2 separate regions of the Homo sapiens genome follow, and region 2 is linked to region 1. Evidence: promoter capture Hi-C in 16 types of primary human blood cells and fetal thymus (Javierre and others, 2016). All regions are on one chromosome and are shown on one strand. Each heading gives the region's core, a stretch centred on a gene start or on the middle of the fragment in contact. The rest is flanking DNA. Distances are from core to core; before and after follow the strand shown. Region 1 holds the start of AKAP10 (A-kinase anchoring protein 10). Region 2 holds the start of B9D1 (B9 domain containing 1).

The links. The method cuts DNA at HindIII sites, captures the fragments that hold promoters and counts their contacts. A CHiCAGO score of 5 or more calls a contact.
Region 2: a contact is called between a fragment that was not itself captured here and the fragment with the promoter of AKAP10 in region 1, in 1 of 17 cell types (naive CD4 T cells). The highest score is 5.0, in naive CD4 T cells.

The regions. Positions count from the first base shown.
Region 1 is chr17:19,976,550-19,979,128 of GRCh38, reverse strand. It overlaps AKAP10 (A-kinase anchoring protein 10), which reads left to right and starts at 1,301. Exons shown (of 15, transcript NM_007202.4): 1 at 1,301-1,537. The coding sequence starts at 1,450. RefSeq lists an enhancer at 218-931 and a silencer at 1,404-1,593. The HindIII fragment of the contact is 5,200 bases long and covers 1-2,579 here.
Region 2 is chr17:19,362,012-19,364,590 of GRCh38, reverse strand. It overlaps B9D1 (B9 domain containing 1), which reads left to right and starts at 1,868. Exons shown (of 7, transcript NM_015681.6): 1 at 1,868-2,084. The coding sequence starts at 2,022. It overlaps LOC105371573 (a long non-coding RNA gene), which reads right to left and starts at 1,814. Exons shown (of 3, transcript XR_934302.4): 1 at 1,420-1,814; 2 at 1,081-1,111. RefSeq lists enhancers at 1,399-1,468, 1,025-1,809, 2,269-2,408 and a silencer at 1,959-2,228. The HindIII fragment of the contact is 3,031 bases long and covers 1-2,579 here.

The DNA.
Region 1 (2,579 bases), core at 52-2,551:
CTTCCTTAAACCTTTCGGTAAGCAACTTCCTCTCCTTCTTCGTTCTTCCTTGCACTTACCTATTTAGAAAGTTTTAGGCTATTAGCAAATCGGCTATCAGTTTAAGAGTGTGAGGTCCCGCTCCAGCCAATGGATGCAGGACATAGCAGTGAGGACGACCCAAATGCGTAAGGGATAAATATGTTTGCTTTTCCTTTGTTCAGGTGTGCTCTCGACATCGTTCCATCTGCGATTGAGCACCCTTTCTGCAGAAAGTAAAGATTGCCTTGCTGGAGATCTTTTGTCTCCGTGCTGACTTTTCTTCGTGGCACCGATTATCTATTTCTAACAATTTTGGTATTTCTAACATTCTGAACAATCTTGGGCTAGTTGTCTCTTCTGGGCCTGTTTCCCCATCCGTCACATGATAAACTTCATTGGTTTAAAAACCCCAGCGAACATTTATTGAGTTACTATTACCTTCCTGCCCTCCCCAACCCCAACCCCAGGGAGCAGTTACAACCTCAGCCGCTGAGCGCACTCGCCGGGTGTTAAGAAGCACCAAAGACAGGGAGGCTTGATTGATTTTGCTTTGGGAGTAGAGGGTCAGAAGATTCACAGGAAAATGGCATTTGAGCAAGGATGATTCACTGGAGCTAGCTTTTAAATACTGGCGAGGCTTTTATGTTGCAGTCCCTTACAAAGTTGAGCATTCGCAGGGACTGCACTCCGAAATAAGCCCGCTTCCCCTTTTCATTCGCTAATGATCCAGGGAGCTGCTGGTTCCGCATGCGGCAGGTTGTGCCTTTTCCTAATCAGGGTTCTGCATCGCCTCGAACCCGCAGGCCGTGGCGGGTTCTCCTGAGGAAGCAGGGACTGGGGTGCAGGGTGAAGCTGCTCGTGCCGGCCAGCGCCTGTGAGCAAAACTCAAACGGAGGAGCAGGAGGGGTCGAGCTGGAGCGTGGCAGGGTTGACCCTGCCTTTTAGAAGGGCACAATTTGAAGGGTACCCAGGGGCCGGAAGCCGGGGACCTAAGGCCCGCCCCGTTCCAGCTGCTGGGAGGGCTCCCGCCCCAGGGAGTTAGTTTTGCAGAGACTGGGTCTGCAGCGCTCCACCGGGGGCCGGCGACAGACGCCACAAAACAGCTGCAGGAACGGTGGCTCGCTCCAGGCACCCAGGGCCCGGGAAAGAGGCGCGGGTAGCACGCGCGGGTCACGTGGGCGATGCGGGCGTGCGCCCCTGCACCCGCGGGAGGGGGATGGGGAAAAGGGGCGGGGCCGGCGCTTGACCTCCCGTGAAGCCTAGCGCGGGGAAGGACCGGAACTCCGGGCGGGCGGCTTGTTGATAATATGGCGGCTGGAGCTGCCTGGGCATCCCGAGGAGGCGGTGGGGCCCACTCCCGGAAGAAGGGTCCCTTTTCGCGCTAGTGCAGCGGCCCCTCTGGACCCGGAAGTCCGGGCCGGTTGCTGAATGAGGGGAGCCGGGCCCTCCCCGCGCCAGTCCCCCCGCACCCTCCGTCCCGACCCGGGCCCCGCCATGTCCTTCTTCCGGCGGAAAGGTAGCTGAGGGGGCGCCGGCGGGGAGTCAGGCCGGGCCTCAGGGGCGGCGGTGGGGCAGGTGGGCCTGCGAGGGCTTTCCCCAAGGCGGCAGCAAGGCCTTCAGCGAGCCTCGACCTCGGCGCAGATGCCCCCTGAGTGCCTTGCTCTGCTCCGGGACTCTTCTGGGAGGGAGAAGGTGGCCTTCTTGCGCGAGGTCAGAGGAGTATTGTCGCGCTGGTTCAGAAGCGATTGCTAAAGCCCATAGAAGTTCCTGCCTGTTTGGTTAAGAACAGTTCTTAGGTGGGGGTTAGTTTTTTTGTGTTTCTTTGAGGACCGTGGATCAAGATCAAGGAAATCTCTTTAGAACCTTATTATGGAAGTCTGAAGTTTCCAAATGTTGAGGGTTTTATGTCTAAAAGCAACACGTGAAAAAATTGTTTTCTTCACCCAGTGCTGTCTTCCAATTTCCTCTTTGGGGGGAGGGGTAGTTACTGCTGTTACTAAAATAAAATTACTTATTGCTAAAGTTCCCCAACAGGAAGACCACTACTTTTGATGACTTTGGCAAGTTTGCTAACTACTGGAACCCTAACTTACAAACGAACTACTTACATTTTTGATTTCCAGTTGTATTACCTGCCCAATGTTTACGTAGAAACAGCTTAATTTTGATTCTGGGTAACGTTGTTGCACTTCATTAAAAATACATATCCGAAGTGAGCAAGTATGGGTCTGTGGACAGCAGTGATTTTTCCTGTCAATTCCTGTTGCTTCAGATAAAATGTACCAGACAGAGGCCGGGCGCGGTGGCTCACGCCTGTAATCCCAGCACTTTGGGAGGCTTGGCGGGTGGATCACCTGAGATCGGGAGTTCAAGACCAGCCTGACCAACATGGAGAAACCCCGTGTCTACTAAAAATACAAAATTAGCCAGGGTGGTGGCGCATGCCTGTAATGCCAGCTACTTGGGAGGCTGAAGCAGGAGAATCGCTTGAACCTGGGAGGCGGAGGTTGCGGTGAGCCGAGATAGCACCATTGCACTCCAGCCTGGGCAAAAAGAGC
Region 2 (2,579 bases), core at 31-2,530, 610 kb after region 1:
CCACCCCAAGAGCTGCAGAGTGTCCTGCTGAGATCGCTGTGTGTCAGCATCTGCAGAAACTACCTTCTCCTCCAACCTGACTGTCCTGACCTGAAGGACAGCCTGCCCAAGGACTTCTAGTACACCAGGCTCTCCACTGGGCCCTTGAACTGGTGGTAAGGATTCCAGCAGGCCCTATGCAAGCCCCTATGCAAGCCCCTGAGACCCCTCTCCTAAAGTCGCTTCTAATGCCACTAGACTTGTTAAAGTTAGGCCTGGTCACCCTCCCATCCTATCCTGGAGTCTTCCATTCCCCAACACCCAGGGGTCGGGCTTATTTGTACCCCTGAAGGCCACCCTAGAACTTCCCACCCCTTGGGGAGACTCCCCCATTATGTCCTATTTGAATGTGGGGCCACCTTTGGTATAGCCAGGTCTTAAACTACTGGGAGCCCCCAGTTATTCGATAACTACAAGCATTTTGCTGAAAACTAACTTGTGTGCAACACCGAGCCTCAAAGGCCAAAGGGAGGAAATAATTGGGTGAGACTGATAGAATGTGTGGGAGAAAGCACTTTAACTGGAAAGAGATGGACAGAGCGGGGGAAGAAGGGAGTATGACCCCCTCTCCAGGAGGGGAAATGGGCCCTGTCTTGGGCTCTGGGTGCAGCACTTGGGCCACCAGCCCACCCATCCCCTCCCCCAGCTGCTCTTGTCAGATGTGTGAACTGGTTACCCGCTGCCTCCCTCCCCTGATCAAATATCTTTGCTCACTAGGCAGGGGGTGGTTCAGTGGGTGCAGGCTGGGCTGAGACTGCTCCTTCCCTCCCTCGTGCAGATGGTTGATGGGACTCCCCTAGTCTGCTCCCAAGCTAGAAGCTGCAGAATGTGATGACCTGGGGTCCCTGCTCGGAGCCTGGCCTCCCGGGAGTCTACACACCTGTGAATCCCTTCATTTCCTGGATCCAAGATAATGTCTCCAACGTCTCCTTTGACACCTCTGCCAACAGATGCTGTTGGGGCTGGCCCAGGACAAGACAGAGGCAGTGAGGGTTGTTAGCCTCTGGAGTCCTGGGTTTGAATCCTGACTTAGCTACTTACCTGCCTTTGCCATCTGAATCTGTTTCCTCCTCTGTAAAATGGAGATGTCTTCAATTATTCATTTATCAACAAGTTAGTAGTTACCAAGTGCTTACTCTGTGACAGGCCACTAAGATACAAGACTGTATCTTGACAGATTCGTGGATTTTGGCTAGCAACTCCCCTGAGCGCTGGCTGATTGGGGTGCCAGGCGCCGCCCGCTGCGGGCCTCAGTTTCCCCAGCTTCGAACTAAAGAGCGATGGCTTGGATGTAAGGATTCTTGAGGTCCCTCCCAAGTTTGTTTAATAAACTTTTTCGAGGGCAAGCGTCTCCAAGCCACAGGGGCGCATCCTTTTCACCTGCTTGGACGCTGCTTGGCCCCAGCTGGGGAGGCTCCTCCGAGCACCCGGCATTCCAGAGTTAGCCCCGACAGCTGTGGTCACGTCGCCCGTGCTCTGCAGCGCCTCCCTCCGCGTCCTCGCGGTGGGGCCACAGCGACATCTAGTGGCTGAATGTATTTTAAACACTCGGCTTGCTGAGGGCGTGAGTCGGAGCGCTGCTCCCCAGGACTCAGCTCTCATTCGCCTCTGCGCTTCGGCGGGGACGGGGAGCCGGGCCGAGTCAGAGTGAACACACACTCCCTGCGCGTGCAACTGAGTCGAGCGGTAGGGCTGGCTTTACCCGACAGGTCAACGCTCCCGCCCCAGCTCTCGGTCATACCTGCCCTAAGGAGGGGTGGAGCCTCGGCGTGGATCCCCGCCCCTTGTGCCCCGCCCCCTTATAACGGCGCCCGTTCACTGCGCCTGCGCATGCCACACGCGCACTCGCGTGGCCTTCGCGAAGGTGTCGCTGCCAAGAAACGTGTCCTGCGCGCTACGCCGTCTGTTTCTAGGGCAACGCCGGCGTCTCTTAGCAACCGCGCGCGGCCTAGGTGGGTCCCCCCGGCACCCCCAGACCTGCCATGGCGACCGCGAGTCCTAGCGTCTTTCTACTCATGGTCAACGGGCAGGTGGAGAGCGCCCAGGTGAGCGGCCGTGGACCCCGCCGGGGCCCGCCCCCCAGCGTCCCCCGGGGCCCTTCCCGCAACCCCCCGGGCTGCCCTGTGGCCCCCGGAGAGCCACGTCATTCCTCTGAGCCTCTCGGTTAGGCGGGGGAGGGGAGCCAGCATTGGAGAGCTTGGCGCGAGGTTGCCCGGATCCTGAGTCCCGATGTGCAGGAATAGAAGCAGACCTCGAGATGTTGAGCTAGTACCGAGGTCACACTCGGGCAAGCCTGTGGGCCCTCGCACGGGTCATGCCCACTTGCTTGGATCACTGGCAGGAGCCTCCTGGGGTTAACGCGAGGAGCCGAGGCTTGGCCGAGTTTCCAGCATTTGCGCTGTGTCCCGTGTGGAGTTACTGTCCCGCGTTCTGAATCCCCAGATCCTTGAACTCGGGTTCGAATCCAACCATCCAACAATGGTGGTGGCCTGGAATTGACCCAAGGAAGGTGTGCCTGCTAGGCCCGAGGGACGCTATTC